2 separate regions of the Homo sapiens genome follow, and region 1 is linked to region 2. The links are contacts of gene promoters, found by promoter capture Hi-C in human tissues and cell types (Jung and others, 2019). All regions are on one chromosome and are shown on one strand. The core of a region is centred on a gene start or on the middle of the fragment in contact, and the rest is flanking DNA. Distances in the headings are between cores, read along the strand shown. Region 1 overlaps SUCLA2 (succinate-CoA ligase ADP-forming subunit beta). Region 2 holds the start of HTR2A (5-hydroxytryptamine receptor 2A).

Evidence for each region. The method cuts DNA at HindIII sites, captures the fragments that hold promoters and counts their contacts. A contact is called where the count stands out against the background at its distance.
Region 1: a contact is called between a fragment that was not itself captured here and the fragment with the promoter of HTR2A in region 2, in 1 of the 25 tissues and cell types used here (dorsolateral prefrontal cortex).

Annotation. Positions count from the first base shown.
Region 1 is chr13:47,941,674-47,949,181 of GRCh38, reverse strand. SUCLA2 (succinate-CoA ligase ADP-forming subunit beta) reads left to right here. Exons shown (of 11, transcript NM_003850.3): 10 at 154-242; 11 at 5,737-6,526. The coding sequence ends at 5,811. Among named protein-coding and RNA genes, the nearest start is that of LINC00562, 13 kb to the right of the region's middle. The HindIII fragment of the contact is 5,565 bases long and covers 1-5,427 here.
Region 2 is chr13:46,894,375-46,901,897 of GRCh38, reverse strand. HTR2A (5-hydroxytryptamine receptor 2A) reads left to right here and starts at 4,845. Exons shown (of 4, transcript NM_000621.5): 1 at 4,845-5,224; 2 at 5,664-6,403. The coding sequence starts at 5,992. The HindIII fragment of the contact is 6,478 bases long and covers 2,202-7,523 here.

The DNA of each region.
Region 1 (7,508 bases), core at 1,396-3,895, 1.0 Mb before region 2:
TTTACAGTGTTTTCTTTGGTTTAGAAGTGTTTATACTAAATAATGGAAGTCTCCTCTGTTGAGGTTTTATTCTTATACCATGTTTTGGCAAACATTTTAAAATGCTTTTGTGTGTGTATTTAAAACATTTATATTTGCATAAATCATTTACAGGTACACGAGTCGATGATGCTAAGGCACTGATAGCGGACAGTGGACTTAAAATACTTGCTTGTGATGACTTGGATGAAGCTGCTAGAATGGTAAATTGGCCATGTTCATCTAAGGAGGATTTATAAACACAGATTCTAAAATGAACCTAATTATTAATACAGCTAATAATTTGTGTTTCAGCTAAATATTATGAGTGTAATGAATGGTTAAAGAAAACGATTATTCATGACTCTTGCTGAAAGATGTTAAGGCAGACTTTATTCAGAGGGACTGTTGCAATAAGCATAGAGACTACTGCAGTGGAGTTTTGCAGTAGGGGAGAAAGATTGGGCCCAACTCCAAATACAGCAAGGAAAAGTGGGAATTTATAACCAAGGAAGAGGGTCGGGGCAGTGGATGAAAAATTACTAAAAGGATACATTATGGGTAAGGGAGGATCCTGGCTAAACTGACTTAAGCAAGATTCTTGGTAAAATTGGACTATGCAGGGACAAATACAGAAGTCCAAAAGTTAGGGCCAAGTTGAGAAGAGAGTTCAGAGTAGCCTTTGGGAGGCTGAGGCAGGAGGATTGCTTGAGTCCAGGAGTTTGAGACTAGCCTGGGCAACATAGGGAGACCCTATCTTCACACATGTGCGCACACACACATGCACGCACACACACATGCACGCATATGTATGTATGTGTGTGTATCTATCTATATATTCGATAAATATATATTGAAAAAACAAAAGAGAGTTTGGTCAAGGAGAGAATCTTTGTCAGAACGTCTTATATCTGTGATCATCTTAAACAACGGTCAGCTCCTGCCCAATCTTGTTTGTTGTTTTGTCTGTATTCTTACTTCCTCCCACAACTGTGATTATTTTCAAGCAAATCCCAGACATTATATCATTTCATACATTTCATCATGCATCTGTAAAAGATAAAGGTATTGATAATGGTATAAAAAAATTACTGTTACTTGTTTTAGGTGGGGTAATGGTATTATGGTTATGTTTTATAAAAATACAGTCTGTTGAAATTTCTGAGTCTCTTATATCTTTTGTTTAAGTTCTTTGTAAGGGTCAGAATAAGTCTCTGCATTGTAGTTGGTTAATATGTCAGTAAGTTTCTTAATCTGTTGGTTTCCCCTTTTAAAAAGAAAAGTATTTTCTGTGGTTTATTTGTTGAAAAATCCAGGTTGATGGTCTTGTTAAGTTTCTCATAGTCTGGATTTTAATGGTTGCATCTTTAGGCTGTCATTCATTTACTGTGTTCTCTGCCCTCTCTGTGTTCTCTGCCTTGTGTATTTCCTGTAAACTGGGAGTTCAGTCTGTAGGCTTGACCATATTCATATTTGATTTTGGGGAGCAGGGAACAAGAATATTTCATAGTAGGTGTTTAATTTCATCAAAACGTATACAATGTTAATCTTTTTGTGGTATTACTAGCCATTGACATCATAGCTTAGATCCAGTATTTTGTTTGTGTTGCAAAGCGTTGCTATTGTAATTCTGTCATTCTTCACTTATTATATGTAATGCTTCTAAAAAGTAATACTTCCACGTGTCAACCATTTGTTACCATGGAGTACATTTTGCATAGGAAAAGTAGGATAATTACCTGATTATTTGCCTTTATTGACCAATTTTCAAAATAATGTTTGTTCTATTATGTCCAATAAAGGTGACCTAGGGTTTTTTTTGTTTTTTGTTTTTTTTGTATTTTGTTTACTTTTTGTTTTCAGGTGTGTGTGTGTGTGTGTGTGTGTGTATTGTGCGTGTGTGCATACACATGCATACACATGTGTGTTCCACTGGCATACTGTTTTGAACTTATGACTTAAAACATTGATGTAGTTCAGTTCATGTAAGTTGTGATTGAAATTGTCCAACCTTTGGTCTTTGGGAACCTCTTCAGGTTAACTGTTGCATCCTTCTGAGAAGCCCTCTATCTGGTATGATAAAATGTTTCAGGCTCATCTTTACGTTTCTTGAGTCAGAACTTGAATGGGCCAAATGGTATTTAGAGAGCACAATTTGGCCTTATGAGTATTCATAGATACTGGGTTGATTATTGTTTCTGAGCTTTTTAAGTGGCAAGTCTGAGAAAACATGTATTTTTTAAAGAGGTAATACTTGAGTTCATACTGATATTTTCAATGCAAGTCCAGGAGTATAGATTTTTTTTTCTTATCTGACATCTGTTTGTACCTTCGTTCATGCCATACTATCATAATTATTCATTTGCTTTGTCCCTTAGTACAGATATGACAGTTTTATAATAAGAATACCAACAGTCTGATTACTGAAAGCAATTATATCTGCATTTCTTTCTGTCCTTTAGGGTATGTCCCACAACTTAGTGGATTTTAAAATTCATGTGAAATAATTCTCTGTGTGTTTTGTCTCAGCTTTGTATAGTTTCATTGTTTTTAAAGGGATTGCTTTTTTTAAAAAAAAAAAAACACAACCTTTTGTTTTTTATTTTGTATTTACATGATTCCAAAGTGGAAAGTATAGAACAAGGTATTATCAGGGAATCTAGCTTTTATATATTTCCCTCTTTACTTCTTCCCCAACAGGCAACCTTTTTACCTTTTTTTTTTGTTTGTTTTTTAAGAAAGTTTTGGTTTATCTTTCCACTTCTTAAAAACATAAGCTAATTGTATGTATATAACTATATGTATGTGTGCAGTAGTCCCCCCTTATCTGCAGGGAATGTGTTGCAAGACCCCTAGTGGGTGCCTGAATCACAGATAGTTCCAAACCTGTATATACTGTGCTTCTTCCTGTACATATATTCCTTTGATAAAGTTTATGTATTAGACATAGTAACAGATTAACAACAACTAATAATAAAGTAGAACAATTATAACAATATACCGTGATAAATGTGAATGTGGTCTCTCAAAATATCTTATTGTTCTATACTCACCTTTGTGGTGATAATGAGATGATAAAATGCTTACTTGGTGAGATGAACTGAGGTGAATGATGAAGGCATTGTGACATAGTGTTAGGCTACTACTGACCTAATGATGTAACAGAAGGAGAATCATCTGCTTTGGTTCATCCTGGATCATTGAGCCATGATGTTGATTGTTGGATGTCAAGAGTAGATAATGTTGATGACTAATGGAAGAGTAGTTTATACAGCGTGGATACGCTGGGCAAAGAGATGGTTCACATTCCACTTGGAGCAGGATGGTGCAAGATTTCATCACACTTCTCAGAACAACACACAGTTTAAAACTTAATGACTTTTTTATTTCTGGAATTTCTCATTTAAAATTTTTGGACCACAGTTGACTGCAGGTAACTGAAACTGTAGAAAGTGAAATTGGATAAGGGGGGGACTTTGTGTGTGTGTGTGTGTGTGTGTGTGTGTGTGTGTGTGTGTGTCTCCCTTTTCCCACTTTAGATTAATGGTAATCTATACTTTGTTTCTTTTACTTAACAATAATGTGTATCAGAGAACACTTCATAGTAGATACAGAGAGATGAGAATTTTTTGTCTTCCCTTCCATTATGTTTATAGACATTTCATTGAACACTCGAACACTCTTTGGGCTCTATAGCTTAATCAATAGTAGATTCTTGATTTTTTTTTTTTTTTTTTTTTTGAGACTGAGTCTTGCTCTGTCACCTAGGCTGGAGTACAGTGGCGTGATCTCAGCTCACTGTAACCTTTGCCTCCTGGGTTTAAGCAATTCTTGTGTCTCAGCCTTCTGAGTAGCTGAGACTACAGGTGTGTGCCACCACGCCCAGCTAATTTTTTTTTTTTTTTTTTTTTTTTAAGACAGAGTTTTGGTCTTGTTGCCCAGGCTGGAGTGCAGTGGTGTGATCTCGGCTCACTGCAACCTCCATCTCCCAGGTTCAAGCAATCCTCCTGCCTCAGCCTCCCAAGCAGCTGGGATTACAGGCATGTACCACCATGCCTGGCTAATTATGTATTTTTAGTAGAGATGCGGTTTCACCATGTTGGTCAGGCTGGTCTTGAACCCCTGACTTTGTGATCCACCTGCCTCGGCCTCCCAAAGTGCTGGGATTCAGGTGTGAGCCACTGCGCCCAGCCTTGTATTTTTAGTAGAGATAGGGTTTTGCCATGTTGACCAGGCTGGTCTCGAACTCCAGACCTCATATGATCCTCCCACCTCGGCCTTCCAAAGTGCTGGGATTACAAGCATGAGCCCCCAGGCTTGGCCAGACTCTTGAATTTACCGAGTTAATGTGATGTCATTTCACAAAAATAATAAAAGTCTTATGTCCTTCTTTGGGAAAGTACTTACTAGTAAACAAAATTTAACTCTAGCTTGGAGACAGAAGAATTTAAACTTAAACCTGAATTAAAAATAAAGAATTTGAGCAAGGGAATAGTAGGAGAAAGTATTTCAGAAAGCCTATTTTGACTTTGAGATGTGGGATATATTGAAGGGAAAAGGGGAGAGATAGTAGGAGTCCATCTAGTGCAATACTTAGATATGAGAAAAGGTGAAGGTAATAAATAGGTTATAACTTGTCTCTGAAAGTGCACTTTTTTGGAATGAAAACTTAAATTAAGAAAAGCTTGGAGGACATGAAAAGAAGGAGAAGAACCAGTAGGACCTTGATCAAATAGATCATGAGAGGTAAAAGTGAACAGTTGATTTAAATTATGACTACAGTGTTTTTATTGACTGGGAGATTATAGAAGTCATAACAATAATAATATTGAATGAGATGATGATGATATTAGCAGTTACTACTGTTTATTGAGTGTTTACTGTGCATGCAATGCTAAGCTGTTTTCTTCAAGGATTATCTCATTTAATATGAATTTGGTGATAAAATTTCCATTTTTATAGATGAAGAAACAGGCTAGATAAGTTAACTTATTCAAGGTTGTATGTCATAAGCATCAGAGGGGGGATTTGCAGCCAAAGATATCTAACTTCAAAGCCTTTTCTTAACTAATTTACTGAGGAAGAGAGAAGCTGAGTTTGTTTTTTTGGTCTTAGACATGTCTAAATTTGTATGATGTTTTGTATGGTAACTGGTGGATATTTTTAGACAGATTGTAGAGAGAATTGGAACTCAGGTTAGCAATTGTTAACTTACTGACAAAAAGTAAAATACTAACTAGTAGACCCAAATTTCTATCCCAACATTTTAAGTTAAGATTGTATACTTATTTCAAAACAAATTTTTACTTAGATGTGCTTTGAGTTGTGGAGTATCCAACAAAGACACTCACTGTTTCTGTCTTTAAGATAAAATTTAGAATAATATATATATATATACACACACACACACACACACACATACATACACACACATTTTATACACACATATATAATCTTATGTAATACATATGTGTAATCCTAGCAGGTGGTATAACATCTTAATCAGAAAGTATTTAATTGAAGTTTGGACTATGAGGAGTGTCAGACTTGATTATCCTTTGAGAATGTCATTTGCTTATAAGAACGTAATGTGATTTATAGCAATGTCAGAATAGTCCAGATGTTTTAAATGGAAAAAATTGAGTGTACATTAATTTTGCACTGACCTGTAGTTCTGAATTTACCTTTTTGTGAAAATTCTTCGTTCTTTTCTTTTAGGTTGTAAAGCTCTCTGAAATAGTGACCTTAGCGAAGCAAGCACATGTGGATGTGAAATTTCAGTTGCCAATATGATCTGAAAACCCAGTGGATGGCTGAAGGTGTTAAATGTGCTATAATCATTAAGAATACTGTGTTCTGTGTTATTGTTCTTTTTCTTTTTAGTGTGTGGAGATTGTAATTGCCATCTAGGCACACAAACATTTAAAAGGATTTGGACTGCATTTAATTGTACCATTCAGAATGGACTGTTTGTACGAAGCATGTATAATGCAGTTATCTTCTTTCTTTTGTCGCAGCCAGTCTTTTTTGCTTCTCCTACAAAACGTAACTTGCAATTTGCCAGTTTATTATTGTTGGATACAAAGTTCTTCATTGATAAGAGTCCTATAAATAAGATAAATACGAAGATAAAGCTTTATTCTTTAGTGTTAAAATACAGTATATCTAATAACTAGCCTCATTAGTAGAGCAGTATATTAAAACAATGTTTTATGTAAAAAGTGTTTATCTTCAGCACCAAATACATGATAAATGTATCAATCACTATTTATAAACAGAGCTTTCAAACACTCCTCAGAATATTCTTCTAAGTATTTTGATGAAGTAACTTTGTAATTATTTGAACATTGTTTTAATCATTAGGAAACACTGATTAACTGCAAGTCTTCATGATTCTGTCATATTAAGAAACACCTGTAGGTTTGCTTCAAATAAAGGCATATATACCAAGGACTTACAGACAAAATTAAGAATGTCAATTTAAGTTAATAAAAATCTCCCAATATGATTTGGGTTCATGGCTTTTGTTTGCTTGTTTTGAGGTAAACACAGTAGAAGTTGATTTGTTCGTTATTGCAGTATAGAGGTCTAAGCACCAATTCTTAGATCATATACTTGCCATGACAGTGATTTGTTTTTTTTTTTGAGTCAGGGTCTCACTCTGTCACCCAAGCTGGAGTGCAGTGGTATGATCATGCTCACTGCAACCTCTGCCTCCTGGGCTCAAGCAGTCCTCCCACCTGAGCCTCCTAAGTAGCAGGGACTACAGGCACACACCACAAAAAAACATATGTGTTTTTTTTTGTTTTTGATTTTTGTTTTTTTTTTGGTAGGGACAGGGTATCACTATGTTGCTTAGGCTGGTCTCTTACTCCTGAGCTCAAGCAATCCTCCTGGCTTTGCCTCCCAAAATGTTGAGATTACATGTATGAACTACTGCACCCAGCCAACCATACATATTATACAGCTACTTATAGATAGATAGTTCACTGGAAGTCTGCTATTTATGTGTATGCCATCTAGTATATCCTCTAAAGGAAACAGAGGGGAGAATTGAATCCAAGATGCCTAACTTCAAAGCCTTTTCTTAACTATTTTACTGAGGAAGAGAGAAGCTGAGTTTATTTTTTGGTCTTGGACATGTCTAAATTTGTATGATGTTTTTGTTTTTGTTTTTGTTTTGAGATGGAGTCTCGCTCTGTTGCCCAGGCTGGAGTGCTGTTGCACGATCTCAGCTCACTGCAAGCTCCGCCTCTGGGGTTCACACCATTCTCCTGCCTCAGCCTCCCGAGTAGCTGGGACTACAGGCGCCTGCCACCACACCCAGCTCATTTTTTGTATTTTTAGTAGAGGCAGGGTTTCACCGAGTTAGCCAGGATGGTCTTGATCTCCTGATCTCGTGATCTGCCCGCCTCGGACTCCCAAAGTCTGTATGATGTTTTATATGGTAACAGGTGGATATTTTTAGACAGATTGTAGTCACATGGTTC
Region 2 (7,523 bases), core at 3,596-6,095:
TTTGATGTCTCTTCCCTAAACTCTGTACTCATCCATGCTACTGCCAACTATTTCTTGAATGAATGAAGGCAGGAACTATGCTCATCTTCATGGTTATACTCAGCACCTATAATAGTGCTTGACACAGCAGTCAATTATCAACTGTTAAATTAATGAATATTGTTCAACTCGGTGCCACTGTGAGAAAATTAAAAAGATAGATGACAGTCATTAGCTAATTTCAAGTAGTTTTTTTTTTTAGATACAAGCCAGTGCCATAATAGAAGGCAGTTCATGATATTGTTTTCTAAATATACATTGGTCCGATGGTCTGGCTTGTTCCAAACCTAAGTATCAGAGCACCAAAAGGAAGTGATAGATAAAATGTCAGTCAGTAAACCCTCTGTTAATATTTTTTTCCTCATTCTCAGGCCATTAGTAATGTTTGAGCAGCAGAAATCTTAGAGACATATTCTTAAATATCATAGAGTAAAAGAATTCTATGCTGCCAATTCATAACAAAATCAGGCATAATCAATTGAGTGAAGGTTAAGGTTGGCACTGTCTTGCAAAATTAAGCAGCTTAAAAAGGACAAACGTAACAAAGAAAAGGGACCTATTCTATGTTCCTTTGAACAAGAAAAAAAATAAATGTTGAAACCCCAAATGTCCAGGCCATTTCAGTTTCTCAGACTACAATCCATTAAATAATCATTTAATCACAGTGACATGGATGAACACACAGATACACTGTTGAGTGAAAGAAGCGTGACATAGAAGACTGCAGAAGATGCTACAGTCTTTGCCTCCACTAGGAAGGAGGGCCACATGTGTCCATTTAAGTTAAAGTCAAAAAAGGATAGGAGAGTACTTTCAAAAATGATGAAAATGGTGGATATCTTAATTTGGGTGATGGTTACATGGGTGTACATATTTGTCAAACTCAGTGAATTGTATACTTAAGAGCATTATGTTTTAATAAATTTAAAATATAACTCAATTTAGACAAAATTAAAGTGTCTTTCAATGAGTGTTCTGGATGAAGAGGAATGAAATAAATATAAACAAATTTCCTTACTGCAGGATCTCTTACAGCTTTTAATATGCAATTATGCACTGTATATTTCTAAGAGGAGACTATAAGATACAGTAATGTTCCAGACTTAATTGGTCAAGGAACCTTTTTTTCTCATATACATTGACATATGTAAGACACTACAGTTTCAGAAACCCAATAACTTTAGCCTGGAAAAAAATTCAAACAAAGGCTACAAATACCACTGAAGTCATTGAGAAAATATTAACATCTAATTTTAAGCAATCACTTTCTAGTGAATCTTCCAAAATGAACTAGTTATAAAATGTATTCCTATATATGGTCCAATTAAGAACTAGAGAAATTCTGCCCAAGATAATAAATATAGTTCTGGTATTGTTAACCTTAAATTCCTTCTGGCAGTAATTAGATAGCAAAGCCAGATGTATATTGAAGAATTCTAAGCTTATGGCAAGGAAGCATCATTCATCATCACATAGACAACACTTATCTGTTTTGTGTAAGACATCCAACTCACCCAGAGATGTTATTCAAGGCATTAATACACAGCTAAAGATGATAGGTCATAGGTTGAGCTCCCCAGGAAGCTGACTCTGTGACTGATGTGTGTGCAAGAGATTTGTGTGGGGCGAGCTCTCAGATCAACACCGGCAGGGGAGCAAGAGAAGCCAGACTGGACAAGGGGAGATATTTAACTTGGATTTGACACAACAAAGGCCTCAGTGAATCCCATAGAAGCACTGGAACCAAAGTTCTTCAGCCATCAGGCAAGAGGGCCAGCCCTTTATATCCTCACAATGGACCAGTCTTTGCATGCTGGCTGCCACAGAGAAGGGGCATGACCACTGGCAAGCTGGCTTCCTTGGCTGAGGGGAGTGTTCACAGAAAGAGTGGAGAGCCAGCCACCAATCCTTCCAGCAGCAGGGAGCCCGAGTCTCAGCCCTGAAGCAGAAGCTGGGCGAGGCATCACGGTGCGCACTACAGCAGCCAACACACACTCGTCTCACCAAACTCACAGGGGCATCTGCCCAGCAAGAAACTATTCCTACCTAATCTAACCCTCATGCTATTAACCTAGAAGCTCTGTTTAAGAATCAGGAGCCTAGATTATGCCCCTACTGCTTTGTCCATAACAAGTATTCATAAAATTGCAATAAAAACTAGAAATAATCTTAGATGGTAGCCAAAAAAATATTTCCCAGTGTAAACCACATAATAAGAAACACTGATTAGTTTTGGCATGACTAGAAGCCTAGCTGTTCTTCATGAGAAATAATGGACTGAGATCATCAGAATTCTCTAAGAGCTATAACAAGAACATCTATAAAATTTAACCTCAGAAAACTTTTGAATAACTTCCTGACACTGGAGTATTTTTTATATTACATTTCCCTCTGCTATCTTTAATAAAATTAAATTGGTATCCCAATAAACAAAGTAACAAGAAAAAATGAGAGGTTCTAAGTTTCTCCCTGGTTCTCCTTTTTAATAATCAATTCATCTTAATTTATGCTAATAACAATTCAGTCAGAACACATCTGTTGAGGACCTTCCATTATGAGATACCATGCTTAGATACCACATGTGAGGTTTATGAATTGCATCTGGGTGGATAATATAATAGTATAAGATAGATGTAATATAGATTACATCTATATTAAGGGTATGGAAATGAAGTTCAACATCTAATAGAGAAGACAGACATTTACACAGATGTCATGCATTCATTCAACAAACATACTTAAGCACTATGCGCCCAGCTGTTAACAAGATAGACACAGTTCCTGCCTTTATGAGGCTTACATGAGACATGATGTGTTAAAAATAGAAGGCTGCAGAAGGTGCTATAGTCTTTGCCTCCACTGGGAAGGAGGGCTACAGAAAGCTTAGGAACAGTAAACTTAGTAAGAATAATAGCAACTAACCTTTATTGAGTGCTTAAAATGTGCCAGGCAAATATGTAAATTTATTTGGCTTTCACGTCAATCCTGAGGTCTTTTTATTATTAATGTTCCCTACTTGCGGATGAGGAGACTAAAACACAGAGATTAGGTAGCTTAATCACGCTTACAGATGTGGTGAGTGGTAGGCCTGGGATCCAGAGCTGCTCTGGAACTAAGCACGAATTTGCCAGATGGACACACACAAAAAAGGAATGGTAAGAGCACTCCGGGCACAGGGAAGTACAAGTACAGAGACATAAAAATGGTCAGAAACATGTAAGTTCAGTCTGCATACAGGCTGACTGGGAGAGTAACCAGAGTCCAGGCCTGCAAAGTGGGGCAAGCAGGGTACAGGTAGATGAAGAAAAGTGTTATGTGCCCCACAAGGAAGGGACTGCAGGAGTGTAGGCATGGGAGTGATGCCAATTGTGTCATTAATATCAGTAAGAATATCAATAGGAATGAAAGTGGCTGACATTACTTGAGAACCTCCTATAAGCCAGACATGGGCCAAATACTTACACACATTATCTCAGTTTAGCTTCACTACAATCTTATGAGGAAGGTATTATCCCATTTTACAAGTGAGAAGACTGAGCTTTAAAGGGAGCAACTAGATGAGGCGAGGTTCTACTGTTTATGAGTGATAGAGCTAGGATCCAAAACCAAGGAACTCTAAGGTCTGTGTTCTCCGCTGCCTGCTCGCCAGCGTGCATATTTAACGTGGAGGGGTAGGAGGGTGGCAGGCATGGCAGTGAGGGGGGCACTAAGGCACCCACCCAGGAAATAGGTGGCTAGATCTCGACCACAGGGTGCCAGCTGCAGGCTGCAGGAGAGGACATGTGAGAAACACGCATACAGAGGTAGCACCGGAGACGAAGTGGGATCTGGCAGCGAGAATGAAGGAAGAGTCGCGGATAACAGCAGCTGTCTGAAGAGGTGGTGATTCCATCATGCAAGCCAATGGGTAGGAACAAGCACTGAGAGCCGGGCAGGGGGATGCGGAGTGAGGGAAGATGCTGAGGTCAAGGTCTCCCAGGCTACCATGGAAGGAGCCAATGGGCAGCTAGAGATTTAGGTCTGGAACTGAGAGAAATAATCAGCTATGAAGGTACAGACTTGGCCACAAACATATTGAAGGCATGAGAGTGGTTGAATTTGTCCAGGGAGAATGTGAAGAACAGAAGGTGATAGAACTGTAGCAAAACCCAACTATTGAGGAAAATATTTTCATGCCTGCAAAAAGAGAGAGATCGAACTGCCTCCTTTAGAAACCTACTTGGGAAAGGGCTTTCTTTACAAGTAAGGCAAGTTGTCATTACTGGTGGGGGAAAAAAATTGGTACTGCGAAACCAACTTATTTCCTACCACATGTGAGGTTTTGAATAATATCTGGGTGGCATATTTCTGCTGAAGAAAATAAGCCAGTTCAATGGTGTATCTATTAAATAAAAATAGTGCTAATAGTTTATCAGAGTTATCACCACAGACGTGCCTAGCCACCCTGAGCCTATGTGGCCAATGTCAGTAATTCCACTCTGGACACAAACACTGTTGGCTTTGGATGGAAGTGCCGGACACTCACAGCACTCCGAGGACATACTGTTTTCTAGCCTTATTTATGTTCTCTCTTCACCCTTCAGCCTAAAAAATTACCACAGTGCCACTTACCTACCTTAATGGGAATCTGCACAAAAGGCCATTTCTCCAGTTTCTCTCAAAAGCAAAGGAAAACTTCCCAATATTAATATGTAGCAAAAAGAGGGAGAAGAAAAAGCCTGTTTGGTCCGCCCTCCTGGCTGTTGCTACCTTGCAGCTTATGACATACACATAGAGGGAGGTCTGATGAAATGAACGAGACAGTCAGAGAGCTACTCCATTCCCGTGGAAACCAGGAGTCCCTTGGTGCAGACAGCTCTTCCTACTTTCCCATGCAGTTCTTTTGTGCGACTTTGAGGGGCTCGTGAATGATTTCTAAATGTGTGCCTGCTGAGGCGAGCCGCACAGGGAGGGAGGAACCCAGCCGAGCCGTGCCAGAGGAAGCCAACAGGATCCTAGCAGTGCGGGAGCTGGCTCAGCTCTTGCATGCAGTTTTTGAAGTCAGCAAAACAGAAACCAAATTACTATCATATTATGCTGGTGGAAGATCAAGAAGAGGGGACTCTACACCAGTTTAATTACTGTGAGAGATGCAGCGAGTCACAGAATAACAAATGTATCTCATGTGTGGACCCTGAAGACAAATGTAAGTTCTCATGCCGCTATATTTTATTGCTGTGTAATTTTCTTTCCGGTTTGAAATCATGCTTGGCCAACATGTAATCATTTCAATGAGAATTTCCAGGGAGGAAAGTTGTCTGCTAATCTTTACTTAAGACTTTTTTGTTTTCCTTTTATTAGCTAAGCAACATTATAGGAGCTGAAATTCCTGACAGCAGCTGTGGCAATTCAGCTTAAGAATGGCTGAGAACTGTAACCCAAAGTACATCCAATTACTATGGGATTAACACTGGATGTATTTTTAATTGACTTTCTTAATGTAGAATGTGTACATCCCCACTGTTTCTGATTGCATGCTATTTTAATAATACTGTTGCTAAACTAGTACCATCGGCATAACCAACAAAATGAGATATAGTTAAACAAGAGTCCCAGTAGTTATAAAACTTTTCTTCTTTGTCCAGGACATTTATCTTCCCGAGCGCTCAAAAAAAACCCTGCAACCTCTATGCTAAAAGTTCATTCTGCTTTTTTGTCCTCGGTTTGGTGAGAAAATAATAAAACCAAACAGTGGACTCTCCTAAAATTGTGAATGAAGAAAACTTACAGCCACCACAGTTCAGTTCTTTAACTATCATTGTAATAATGGAAGACAAAAATCCAGCCCCGGGAGAACAGCATGTACACCAGCCTCAGTGTTACAGAGTGTGGGTACATCAAGGTGAATGGTGAGCAGAAACTATAACCTGTTAGTCCTTCTACACCTCATCTGCTACAAGTTCTGGCTTAGACATGGATATTCTTTGTGAAGAAAATACTTCTTTGAGCTCAACTACGAACTCCCTAATGCAATTAAATGATGACACCAGGCTCTACAGTAATGACTTTAACTCCGGAGAAGCTAACACTTCTGATGCATTTAACTGGACAGTCGACTCTGAAAATCGAACCAACCTTTCCTGTGAAGGGTGCCTCTCACCGTCGTGTCTCTCCTTACTTCATCTCCAGGAAAAAAACTGGTCTGCTTTACTGACAGCCGTAGTGATTATTCTAACTATTGCTGGAAACATACTCGTCATCATGGCAGTGTCCCTAGAGAAAAAGCTGCAGAATGCCACCAACTATTTCCTGATGTCACTTGCCATAGCTGATATGCTGCTGGGTTTCCTTGTCATGCCCGTGTCCATGTTAACCATCCTGTATGGTGAGTGGCATTAGTTTCCCAGCTATATTCGCACTGGTAATAAAGAGCATGTGCATGCCACCAGCAGATGAGATGGGGCTCAGGGGGCAAACAAACTATAAATAGAAGTCTTTGTTTATAGACTAGAGCCTACTATGTTACTTATATTTTACTCTTAAAATGGGATTTCACATAAAAATCAGACAGTCTATGACCTGTGATCACTGGAGAGTTTTGTGCTTCAAAACGCGTACATCCTGTGTAAAAATGATCATTGGAGAGTTTTGTGCTTCAAAACATGTACATTTAATGTAGAAATTTTTATAAATTACCCCATACAGTCATAAACCAATAACTTACCCATCATTCTGAATCTACTTGATTTTTGCTTCTTTATATTCCCAACCAATATTCCAGCCTTCAGGACAGAACAGTTTTAATCTTTGTCACACAGTTTTCAGCACTTTTAATGGAGTGATAAAGCCTTCCCAATTACTTTGGAACATTTGCAGAGAGAACATTAGTGGTGCAATAGGTTTTATGTTAAAATATGCAGAACCTCAATTAGAATAAATGAATTACTCCAGTTTTAATTGTTCCCTGCCCAGAGAAGCTAATTTGGAAATGTGCCTTTGAATTATATCCTCAACTCTTTGAAAATGCATATGCATAAACTCCTCCAGTCTGGTTTGGAGGAGGGTGGGAAACAAATGGGAAGGGATTAATCTTGCTTTCTTCTCAACAGAGTTTGAAACAGTCAGACCTCTCAGCAAGGGACCAGAATGTGATATTCTTTCCAAATTATGAGTAATACAGCCAGATACCTCCTTAAAGGAGAGACTATTGTGACTGCTGACACAGGCACAAGCAGCAGTCACTCAGAGCTTAGAGACAGGTTATGATAGCTATCTTTAAAGGGAAATTTTCTGGTCAAGTCTTAGGGGCTAAGATTAAAAAACATCAACCCAGCCCTAGAGAATGTGAAGGAGGAAGGCGGTACGCAAGGGCGAGCAGGCGCCAGTTTGCACAAAGCTAGTAACACTCATTCCAAGTCCAGCCTTCACTTGACCATTTAAATGCCACACCGGAATGATTTCATTTAATTTGCCTGCCCTTTCCCCGGCATCCCGGGGAAGATTCT